3 separate regions of the Homo sapiens genome follow, and regions 1 and 3 are each linked to region 2. Evidence: promoter capture Hi-C in 16 types of primary human blood cells and fetal thymus (Javierre and others, 2016). All regions are on one chromosome and are shown on one strand. The core of a region is centred on a gene start or on the middle of the fragment in contact, and the rest is flanking DNA. Distances in the headings are between cores, read along the strand shown. Region 1 overlaps BPGM (bisphosphoglycerate mutase). Region 2 holds the start of STMP1 (short transmembrane mitochondrial protein 1). Region 3 overlaps LOC124901750 (a long non-coding RNA gene).

What was found. Contacts are between HindIII fragments. The CHiCAGO score rates a contact against its expected background, and 5 or more counts as called.
Region 1: a contact is called between a fragment that was not itself captured here and the fragment with the promoter of STMP1 in region 2, in 1 of 17 cell types (neutrophils). The highest score is 8.5, in neutrophils.
Region 3: a fragment that was not itself captured here is called in contact with the fragment with the promoter of STMP1 in region 2 in 1 of 17 cell types (erythroblasts); the score reaches 5.2 in erythroblasts.

Annotation. Positions count from the first base shown.
Region 1 is chr7:134,655,488-134,658,949 of GRCh38, forward strand. The region is part of intron 1 of BPGM (bisphosphoglycerate mutase); the gene reads left to right. All of the region lies in intron 1 of LOC124901750 (a long non-coding RNA gene), which reads right to left. Among named protein-coding and RNA genes, the nearest start is that of BPGM, 10 kb to the left of the region's middle. The HindIII fragment of the contact is 3,796 bases long and covers 1-3,462 here.
Region 2 is chr7:135,660,285-135,663,936 of GRCh38, forward strand. It overlaps STMP1 (short transmembrane mitochondrial protein 1), which reads left to right and starts at 2,230. Exons shown (of 3, transcript NM_001130929.2): 1 at 2,230-2,310. The coding sequence starts at 2,296. It also overlaps the pseudogene RPL15P11. RefSeq lists a silencer at 2,105-2,324 and enhancers at 2,964-3,488, 3,489-3,652. The HindIII fragment of the contact is 1,162 bases long and covers 1,455-2,616 here.
Region 3 is chr7:134,635,848-134,639,399 of GRCh38, forward strand. The region is part of intron 1 of LOC124901750 (a long non-coding RNA gene); the gene reads right to left. Among named protein-coding and RNA genes, the nearest start is that of BPGM, 9.2 kb to the right of the region's middle. RefSeq lists an enhancer at 199-288. The HindIII fragment of the contact is 3,013 bases long and covers 360-3,372 here.

The DNA.
Region 1 (3,462 bases), core at 333-2,832, 1.0 Mb before region 2:
AGTTCCAGTTTGCCATTTACTGGCCATATGTTTTTGAACAAGTCAATCAGAATCTCCATTTTTTTCTGTGGAGATTATGGCCATCCATGAACATACTAAACTTATAGTACAAAAGTACAAAGTACAGAACTATAATGGATAATTATTCTTGGCTCCTGTTTTGACATAAATACCCTGAGATTCTTAAGTTAAAGTTTCCTAACATCTTAGCCCTGCCAACTGATTTTACTGTGGCAGTTACCACTAAAACTCTCAAGCCTTAGTCTCATGTGTACAATCCAGTCATTTCTGTCTGACTTTGGTTCAGTCAGTACACCTACTGAGTGCCTCATATGTGCCAAGCGATGTGCTAGGTTCTAGAGATACAGCAGTAAGACCTGCCTTGATGCAGCTTACAGTCTTACAGGGCACATAGCCATTGAACAGGTAATATATCTCAAGGGATCCATCGCAAGTGCACCAAATGTGGTTAAGCGGGATGCTACAGGAGTAGGTCAGCAGGCCTGACCTACTTCCCAATGGGTGAAGAGGAAGTCTAAAGCCAGGGGTTCTCAAAACATGGTCCTTGGACCAGCCATGTCACCATCACCTGAGGACTTGCTAGAAATGCATATTCACAGTCCCACCCCAGACCTACTAAATCAAGCTCTGGAAGTGGGCCCAAGCAATCTGTTTAATTTGATTTTGATATACATTAAAGTTTGAGAACCACTGGCCTACAGGAACTAACATTTAAGCTGAGCTCTAAAGCTGCATGATCTAGTGCGGTAGCCACTGGTCACATGTGGCTATGGAGCACTTGAAATGTGGCTGGTTCACATTGAGATATGCTTTCATTATAAAGTACACACCAGATTCCAAAGACATACTGTGAAAAAAAAGAATGTAAATTGCCTTATTAATAATTTTTGTATGGATCATGTGTTAGAATTGTATTAGTTCTCATGCTGCTAATAAAGACATATCAGAGACTGGGTAATTTTATAAAGGAAAGAGGTTTAAATGATTCACAGTTCAGCATGGCTGGAGAGGCCTCAGGAAACTTACAATCATGGTGGAAGGGAAGCAAACATGTCCTTCTTCACATGGTGGCAGCAAGGAGAAGTATAAGTGAAGTGGGGGCAAAGCTCCTTATAAAACCATCAGACCTCGTGAGAACTCACTTTCTATCATAAGAACAGCATGAGGGTAACTGTCCCCATGAATCAATTACCTCCCACTGGGTCCCTCCCATGACACATGGGGATTATGGGAACTACAATTCAAGATGAAATTTGGTCTTGGCCCCTCCCAAATCTCATGTCCTCTCATTTCAAAACATAATCATGCCCTTTCCAACAGTCGCCCAAAGTCTTAGCTCATTTCAGCATCAACCCAAAAGTCCAAATCCAAAGTCTCATCTGAGACGAGGCAAGCCCTCTCTGCCTATGAGCCTAGAAAATTGAAAGCAAGTTAGTTACTTCCTAGATACAGTGGGGCTACAGGCATTGGGTAAATATACCTGTTCCAAATGGGAGAAATTGGCCAAAACAAAGGGGCTACAGCAGGCCCCATGCAAGTCCAAAATCCAATAGAGCAGTTGTTACACCTTAAAGTTCCAAAATGATCTCCTTTGACTCCATGTCTGAATGATAGCTTTTGGACCTATAGGATTCATGTGGCTTGTAGAAAATTTAAAACTTCATTGTGCCTCGCATTATATCTTGATTGGACACAACTGATCTAAAGGATGACTAGAGCTTAACCTAAAGCAGGGTGAGACTGAAGTGGCAATGGAGAGAAGAGATGAAGGGTGAGTGTTCTGCATAGGGTACAGTGTGTGCAAAACTACTGAGGCAAGAAAGAACCTGACATGCTCAAGGAAATAAAACGAAAGCCTTGCAGGTCACATGAAGGATTCTGAACATTTTCTAAGACCAGTAGGAAGAATTGAGGTTTTAAAATAAGATACTCAATTTTCAAGGAGTTTAATTGTTAGTTTGCAGTTAATAAATGAGGGCAAGAGAACTTCAACTGAATATAGCAAGACTTTCAACATTGAAGCTCCCCAACTCCCTAGGATGGTGGGGGAGGGGCGATTTGGTCAGTGGAGGAAGCAGGACGCTGCCCATCACCTGAACCTAACCCTAGGGTATGAGGCATGAGCACCCCCCACTAGAGAGAGAAGCAGTGTCACCTGGGAAGAGGTCGTTTTCAGTTCAGATCTTTTTCAGTGCAATTGACACTCAAAGCTGAGTGGGAGTTTGAGGACAGAGCTAGGAATTCTGCAGGGCACCAGCAAATGGTTTGGTGAGGGAGGGCTGTAAAGGTGGGTCAGGGAGAAGGAAGCCCAGAGCATTATGGGGATTAGAGGGTCTGTCCTTTGAAAGGCTGTGTTGGGCAATAACAGGAAAGCTGGTTAAGTGGTCCAGACGCTTGGGTTCTGACCGTCTCCTGGGGTATAGTGGCTGTACCATTTATCTGTGGCCTAGGGGAGGTTTCCCTTTAAGTCAGAGGTCATAAGCTAGCAGCCACGATCTAGCCTGCAGAAGAAATGTTTTGTTTCACTCACATTTTACAAATATACATTAGTTGCTAATATTTAAATCAGATATCAGATAAAAATACACGTTTTCATTTTTTTTTTAATTGGAAGATCTAGAAACCTCAGTTGCTCAGTATCACAGGGCAATGGGCTGGAGCTAAGTAGTAGGTACTCCTTTGATTTTTTACATGAATTTTTAGGAGGTTTTGAAATGATTGTTTTAGCTTTTTTAAAAAAGACATTTATTTACTCAAAGTTTCTCTGTGGTCTGACTCTAAGTCTTGCATTCATCCTAGTCTTCGATGTCAGCAATCCCATCTTCTTTTTGTTTTCCAGAAAAGTTCTAAGAACAGTGCTGTTGGCTCAGTGAGATGAGGTTATCGGAAAACTTTCTGTTTACACAAGAGTTGCCTCCTTCAAAGAAGCATGCATGGTCCTTGCAGGTCACTGTGCCCATCACTCTGCATAGTCCAGCTGCACTCTGCTTCACACAGCTGCCTGCCCATTGCAGGCATTTGAGTTTGCAATCCATGCCTTAAACTTTAAATCACACTGGCTACAGCGTTGTGTGTTTCTTGGTAAACACTGGGTAAATCAGCTCCTGTGGATGTTGACTGAAGTTTCTATGTTTGCAAGCTAATCCTCAGCAGTTTCTTTGTAAGTATCCAGCAGTTAAGTGGGAAAAGTCCGTTGATAGTACTAGGGAGGAGAGAGGAAAGTGACCTTTTGTTTTCTTGAGATAGACATACTAGTTTAGTACTTTATCATGTATTCACCTGCGTAAATGTATTCCTGTGCTTCAGAGTGAGGGAAGGATGCATATTTGCATAGTTTTTGTGACTGCAGTACTGTTCCTCTGTTCTGGTGTGTGTGTGTGTGTATTTTTTTTTTAGTAAAAAGAAAACAGAACTTTGTTTTAATGCAGTAAGCAAATATAG
Region 2 (3,652 bases), core at 980-3,479:
AAGCCTGTCCATCATGGTGTTAACCAGCTGAAGTTTGCTCGAAGCCTTCAGTCCATTGCAGAGGAGCGAGTTGGACACAACTGTGGGGCTCTAAGAGTCCTGAATTCTTACTGGGTTGGTGAAGATTCCACATACAGATTTTTTGAGGTTATCCTCATTGATCCATTCTATGAAGTTATCAGAAGAAATCCTGACACCCAGTCGATCACCAAACCAGTCCACAAGCAGAGGGAGATGTGTGGGCTGACATCTGCAGGCCAAAGGAGCTGTGGCCTTGGAAAGTGCCATAAGTTCCACCACACTATTGATGGTTCTTGCTGGGCAGCTTGGAGAAGGCGTGATACTCTCCAGCTCCACCGTTACCACTAATATAAGTAAAGTTTGGGCCAGGCGTGGTGGCTCACGCCTGTAATCCCAGCACTTTGGGAGGCCGAGGCGGGCGGATCACAAGGTCAGGAGATCGAGACCATCCTGGCTAACACGTTGAAACCTCGTCTCTACTAAAAATACAGAAAATTAGCCGGGCGTGGTGGCGGGCGCCTGTAGTCCCAGCTACTCGGGAGGCTGAGGCAGGAGAATGGCGTGAACCCGGGAGGCGGAGCTTGCAGTGAGCCGAGACTGCGCCACTGCACTCCAGCCTGGGTGACAGAGCGAGACTCCGTCTCAAAAAAAAAAAAAAGTTTGTAAAATTCGTACCTAATAATTTAGGACAGTCATGTCTGCTTACAGGTGTTATTTGTCTGTTAAAACTAGTCTGCAGATTGTTTCATGAATGCTTTGTCAAATTATGAAAATTAAAGTGCAATAATTTTTGAAGACAATAAGGGATGGTGTATCTTGTTTCTAATAAGATGAACTTTTTTTGTCTTTGCTTTATCTTATTAGGGAGTTATATATCTTATTAGGGAGTTAGTGTTTAAAACATACTGTGTGGTATAATAGGCTTAAAATAAATTCTTTAAAAGAGAAAGAGAGAAAAAAACACACACATACACAGACCGGAAGACTGACAGAACAGACTCTTTGTGGCGATGATACAAATTGTCAACAGGACCTATGGCCATCCCAGGCAAGAAACCCAGCTAGGCCAGTGAAACTGAGAGCCAACCTGATGAGGCCTGCCAAATGCAACTTCTCTCACTTGTTTTTAGTCACCTGCTTTTAGTGGATTAAAAAACCCACATAGCTAAAGTCACAGAGCTAAACAATATATATCTAAGCTCCCACTATCTTCCTTATGGATAACATCTCTGACATCTGGGTTGCTTGATAAAGGTTTCTTGTTTTTCAGGAAGTTGGGGTCAGTTCTTGTACAGTTTAAACCACCAACCTCTCAACTGGGCCTGCATGAAAGCCCGATGGGTGTCCTTCTGACATTAGAGGGCCAAAACCTCCACACTCAGATCATGCTAAGGATGTCATTTTGTGACCATGTATCCTATAAAGAGCCATGAAGCTTGACTACCTCGCGCAGATAACCCATTGCCAAACTTTTCCTTACCTTCAACCGCCTTTCCCCACACCTCAGACCACCCTGCTCCTCTATCCCATAAATATCCCTAAAACCCATCTTTGGGGAGGCAGATTTGAGATCTGTTCTCCCGTCTCCTCGGCTGGCTGCCTGGTGAATAAACCTTTTCTCTGCTACAAAACTCATCATCTCAGTGACTGGCGTGCGGCACACGGCAGCATGGGCCCCATACGGTACCCAGCCTCTACCTTGATTACACAACACCTGATTACACAACGCTGATTACACAGCACACCTGCGGAGCTTTGAGAGCTACAAGCCTCCTTTCCTCCCCGCAAAGTCCAGCTGGGCCCAAGTAGAGGATGCTGCAAAAGCCCCCACGATTCAGCTGCGAACCTAGGGATGGGACCCGCTGCTCATGCCGTCCTTCTAGGTTAGAGAGCCCTAAACTGGGCTGTGTATCAGAATAGTCCGCGTGCTGAGAATAATATAGATTCCTGGGCCTCGGCCCAGGTTTACAGAGGCGGGATGCTCAAGGATGCCCAGCCAGGCTCGGGACTTGCTCTTCGCAAGTCCTGTCGCGCGCTCGCTGCCCCGCCGGTTCAGGCGGTGAGGCCAACGCGCTCCGCCAGGGGGAACCTGGGCGCTGCGACACTGCAAGTCGTTTCCGGGCGCGGGCTGAGTGGGAGGAGCGGGGCGGGGCGTGGCGTGACCCGGAAGTCGACGAGGGGTTCCGCCCCCCCCGCGCATGGGGAGGTAGGCTCGGACCGGCCCGCGGAGCTGCTGCAGTCCTTCGCGCCCTCCTCGCCCTCCCCACCGACATCATGCTCCAGTTCCTGGTGAGTGGAGCTGCCGAAGAGCGGGGCCCGCTGCCTGGGGCGTGCCTCGGACCCCATTTCCCCCTTGAGGATTGCCGACCCCGCCGACCCGGCCTGGGCGTGGGTCCAGCGGTCCCTTCGTCCCCCGCGCCTGGTCGTCGCCTCGCAGGGCGGCCGTTTTCTTCCTGCCTCCCCAGAAAATCCCTTTGCCAATATTTTTCTGCAGCCATCCAAGTCCCTAAAACTTTGAGGTGTCAGAGAGTGTGCGTTTCCAGAGCTTCTTATTGTGTGCCGCGCCCCGCGCTCATTGTGCAATCTTTGTATTAAAGCTTGTGTGGTCCTTGATGACTTTTCGTAGTCCGCCCCCCTTTCTTTCTGCGCTCCTGTTCCATTACATGGTCGCCGGCCGGTCCCTGCTGTGGAGCCCTGCTAGTTGGCTTTTCTGAGGAGGTAGGAAGGCCAGGAATAAACCGTAAATTAGCCACCTCACGAAGTCCGAGAGGCTAAGTCCTCATCAGACCTTTCAGAGTTGGAGGAATGAGTCAGACACTGGTATACAAGTAATTTTTCCCAAAATGTGTAAGCATGAGTAAGCAGACTATTTCTCTTGGCTCCTTATTTGAGTTAAAAACGAGTTTTCTGGCAAAACTCGGTATATTTCAAAAATTGCTTGGTGAAGGTTCCAGGAGTTGCTCATCAAATTTTCAAGTGAAAGTTTTTCTGCCAAGCTATTGTGCATTCAAAACTTGATGCTTTCAACCTCTATTTTTTTTTATTTTTTATTTTTTTTGAGACGGAGTCTCGCTGTGTCGTCAGGCTGGAGTGCAGTGGCGCAATCTGGGCTCACTGGAACCTCCGCCTCCCGGGTTCAACCGATTCTCCCTCCTCGGCCTCCGGAGTAGCTGGGATTACAGGCGCGCACCAGGATGCTCAGCTAATTTTTGTATTTTTAGTAGAGACGGGTTTCACCAAGTTGGCCAGGCTGGTCTCGAACTCCTGACCTCAAGTGATCAACCCACCTCAGCCTACGAAAGTGCTGGGATTACAGGCGTGAGCCACTGCTCCCGGCTCAAATGCTGTATCTTTTTTTGTTGTTTGTTTTAACGGAGTCCCGCTCTGTCGCCAGGCTGGAGTGCAGTAGTGCGATCTCGGCTCACTGCAGCCTCCGCTTCCTGGGTTTAAGCGATTCTCCTGCCTCAGCCTCCCGAGTAGCTGGTGCGCGCCAGCAGGCCCAGTTAATTTTTGTATTTTTAGTAGAGACGGGGTTTCACCCCGTTGGCCGGGATGGTCTCGATCTCCTGACCTCGGGATCTGCCTGCCTCAGCCTCCCAAAGTGCTGGGATTACAGGCGTGAGCCTCCGCG
Region 3 (3,552 bases), core at 616-3,115, 1.0 Mb before region 2:
CGTTCCTTCCTTAAACCTCATGAATCAACCTCTGTTAGCTTCCAACTTTTTTCTCTTTAGTTTGAAGCTTTTTTTCTGCAGCTTCCTCACCTTTCTCAGCCTTTATAAAATTGGAGAGAGTTACAGCCTTGCTCTGGATTAGGCTTGGACTTAAGGGAATGTTGTGGCTAGCTTGATCTCCTATCTAGACCACTAAAACCTCCATATCAGCAATAACACTGTTTCACTTTCTTATCATTTGTGTGTTCCCTAGAGTTTAATTTCCTTCAAGAACTTTTGCTTTGCATTCACAGCTTGGCTGTTTGGTGCAAGAGCCTTAGCTTTCAGCCTCTCTGACTTTCAACATGCCTTCCTCACTAAGCTTAATCATTTCTAGCTTTCGATTTCAAGTGAGAGACATGTGATTTCCCTTAACTGGAACACTTACAGGTCACTGTAGGACTATTAATTGGCCTAATTCCAATGTTGTTGTGTCTCAGAGAATAAGTAGGCCCGAGGAAATGGGGAGAGATGGGGGAATGGCTGGTCAGTCAAGCAGTCAGAACACACACATTTATCAATTAACTTTGATGTAGTATATGGGTGTAGTTCATTGCACACCAAAGCAATACAATAGTAACATTAAAGACAACTCATCACAGATCGCCATAACATATATAATAATGAAAAAGTTTGAAATGTCCTGAGAATTATCAAAATGTGGAAGAGATACAAAGTGAGCAGATGCTGTTGGAAAAAAATGGCGCCAATGGACTTGCTTGACAAAGGGCTGCTACAAACCTTCAATTTGTGAAAAATGCAGTATCTGCAGCATGAAGTAAAGTGAAGAGCAATAAAATGGGGTATCTGTACAGATATTAAACTGAATTAAATATTTCCATTTGGTTCAATGACAGTAACTTATAAGAATGGTTGATTAGAGATTGCTGGGAGATAATTGCTGGGCACCAAGCCACTTTTTAGTAATAGTTTCAAAATTTACAGTGATTGGAATAGTGAGTTTATATTTGGTGGTGCATGAAAAAACAAGGAGATACATCATAAAAACCTTGGAAACAATAGAATCATTATCTTTTATAGCTTATAAAATGGTGGGCTGAGCTTCTGAGTCTACAAAATTGAGTGGGAAACCTTACACATAGTGAGTTTACCAAAGCTAGTGTCACCTCAATGGTTTTCCAGGCCTCATTGCCCACATTTTGTTTTAAACTTCTTTGGGTCCTAGGAAGGTGCCCCCTTGGACAACAATTAAGAAAAGCCCAGACCACATTTCTATCATTCAGGCCTTCTTTCACTTCCTTTTCAAGGCTACATTCATTTCTCTTACCTGTGTCTGTAGCGATAGATGGTATTTTCTTTTCTTTTTTTTTTTTAGATGGAGTCTCGCTCTGTGGCCCAGGCAGAAGTGCAGTGGCATGATCTCAGCTCACTGCAACCTCCACCTCCCAGGTTCAAGCTATTCTCCTGCCTCAGCCTCCTGAATAATTCGGATTATAGGTGAATGCCACCATGCCCGGCTAATTTTTTTTTCTTTTCTTTTTTTTTTTTTTTTTTTTTTTTTGTATTTTTGATAGAGGCAGGGTTTCACCATGTTGGCCAGGCTGGTCTTAAACTCCTGACCTTGCGATCAATCCACCTCAGCCTCCCAAAGTGCTGGGATTACAGGAATGAGCCACCACACCCAGCTGATAGATGGTATTTTCTAAGCAACAAATGAGGGTATTTGAGCCGAAAAAAACGTGCCTCTCTTCCAAGAAAGAATGGATAGACAATTTCAAAAATTAGCCAGTATTGGGAAATCAGCAGAGTAGTTACTGTGCTCCAATCCCACCTCTTTCTGTAAATGACACATGGAGGGTATAACACAAGGATTTAGTCTGGGGGTGGGGCCAGGCAAGGAAGTCTATACTGCTAGTTGGGAGGAATCTTCACATTGACTAATTCTCCATGGTCACAGAGTTCCTTTCATACCGCTCCCTCTAATTTCCATTATCAGAGTCTTTAAACCTATGTCAATGTATTTCTTTTAAAATGTGATCCAAGAAAGGGCCACTTTAGAAGAATGAGCTCAAAGACTGTGCTTTCCCTGCTCCTCTGACCCCACCAGGTTTCCAGCACTTCATCTCCAGTATCTTCAGTCTCTCCACTGTTTCTTCCAGGCCAGTTTCCAGTGGAAAGACTGCATCTAATGTCCTTGAGTTCTTCTTCTGTTGCTGGTTGAGATATGCCGTTGCCCCAGGCAGCAATGGCAGCAGTTCAGGATTCCCAACCTCTTTCAAAACAGGAAGCCCCACCCCTTAAGCAACCACCTTCTAGTGTAGTACATGCTAGACCGTGCTACCTGGGAGGAGTGGAAATAGCATCCTCTACAGCGGCCTTTGCTCTCAGAGCACATCAGGGCTTTGGCTCTGTGTTTCTATTCTGTCTTTGGTCCACGGAAATGTTTATACTGTTTTCGAACCCTAGAATATATTTTGGGCATTTTCTTTTTATGTTATTTAATACTGCTGGATGTTTACAGTGGAAACCTACTATGCAATTCTGACTGGAAATTCTGTGCATATTTAAACATTGCTCAGAATTCACCTCTTCCATCAAATATCTAAACTTATTACAACCCTGCACTTACGCTCTCCCTTTCCACCCCAAAATACTCTGTGAGCCCTTACTCATTCTACTTGCACTTGTATTTGTTGGACTGTAACAAACACTTGAGTTAGTCTTTCCCCTACTGGACCTTGAGGACAAGGAGGATGTTTAATTTATTTATATATCTCTTGTACTTGGCACAGTGACTTGTTTATAGTAGGCACGAAAAATACTAATTCATTTCCTTCAAAATTCCTAACACAAGTTCTTGAACATTAGGAGGAATTCAATGAATAATTGGTTACTTATTGATTTGCTAGTTGAGACCAGAACCTGTACACTTCTGAAGACTTTACTTATTCTTCTTCTTTATCCTTTTTTTTTCTCCTTTTTCTCCCATTTTTAGAGAGGGCAGAGATGCAGCAAAGCATAAGGAAATAGATGAGTTTAGGAGAAGAGAATATGCTATAGTTACCTTTTTTCAGAAGAAAAGAAATGAAAGCATTTTCCATAATATTTTGTTAGAGGTTGGTCTATTCTTGTTTTACTGAATATAGCTGGGTTTGGAGCTGAGAACACAGGTCCTTTCCTGCTGTGCATAAAAACAATTATCTACAGAAGGGAAACTCTAGCAATATATCAATGCCAGGCCTTTATACACTTGTTGGTATTCTGATGGTGAAGACATGTATGTCATTTGGCACTGCAGTTCCTTCTTTGTTTCGGCTGTGATAGTGATCCAGGATCCTAGCAATCTAAACATCATCTTACTTCGAATTACCAAGCTTTGAAGCCTTTGCCATTACTCACTTTATAAGTCGTAACTTAGTAAAGAGAACATCATATGAGAGTGATTTTTCTTCCCTATCTGATTTTTACATCTTCTGGTTGCAAACAGCAATTTACCTATTCCTCTTATCTGATACCTCACAGAGTGACAACATCAGAAACTAGTTAGGACAC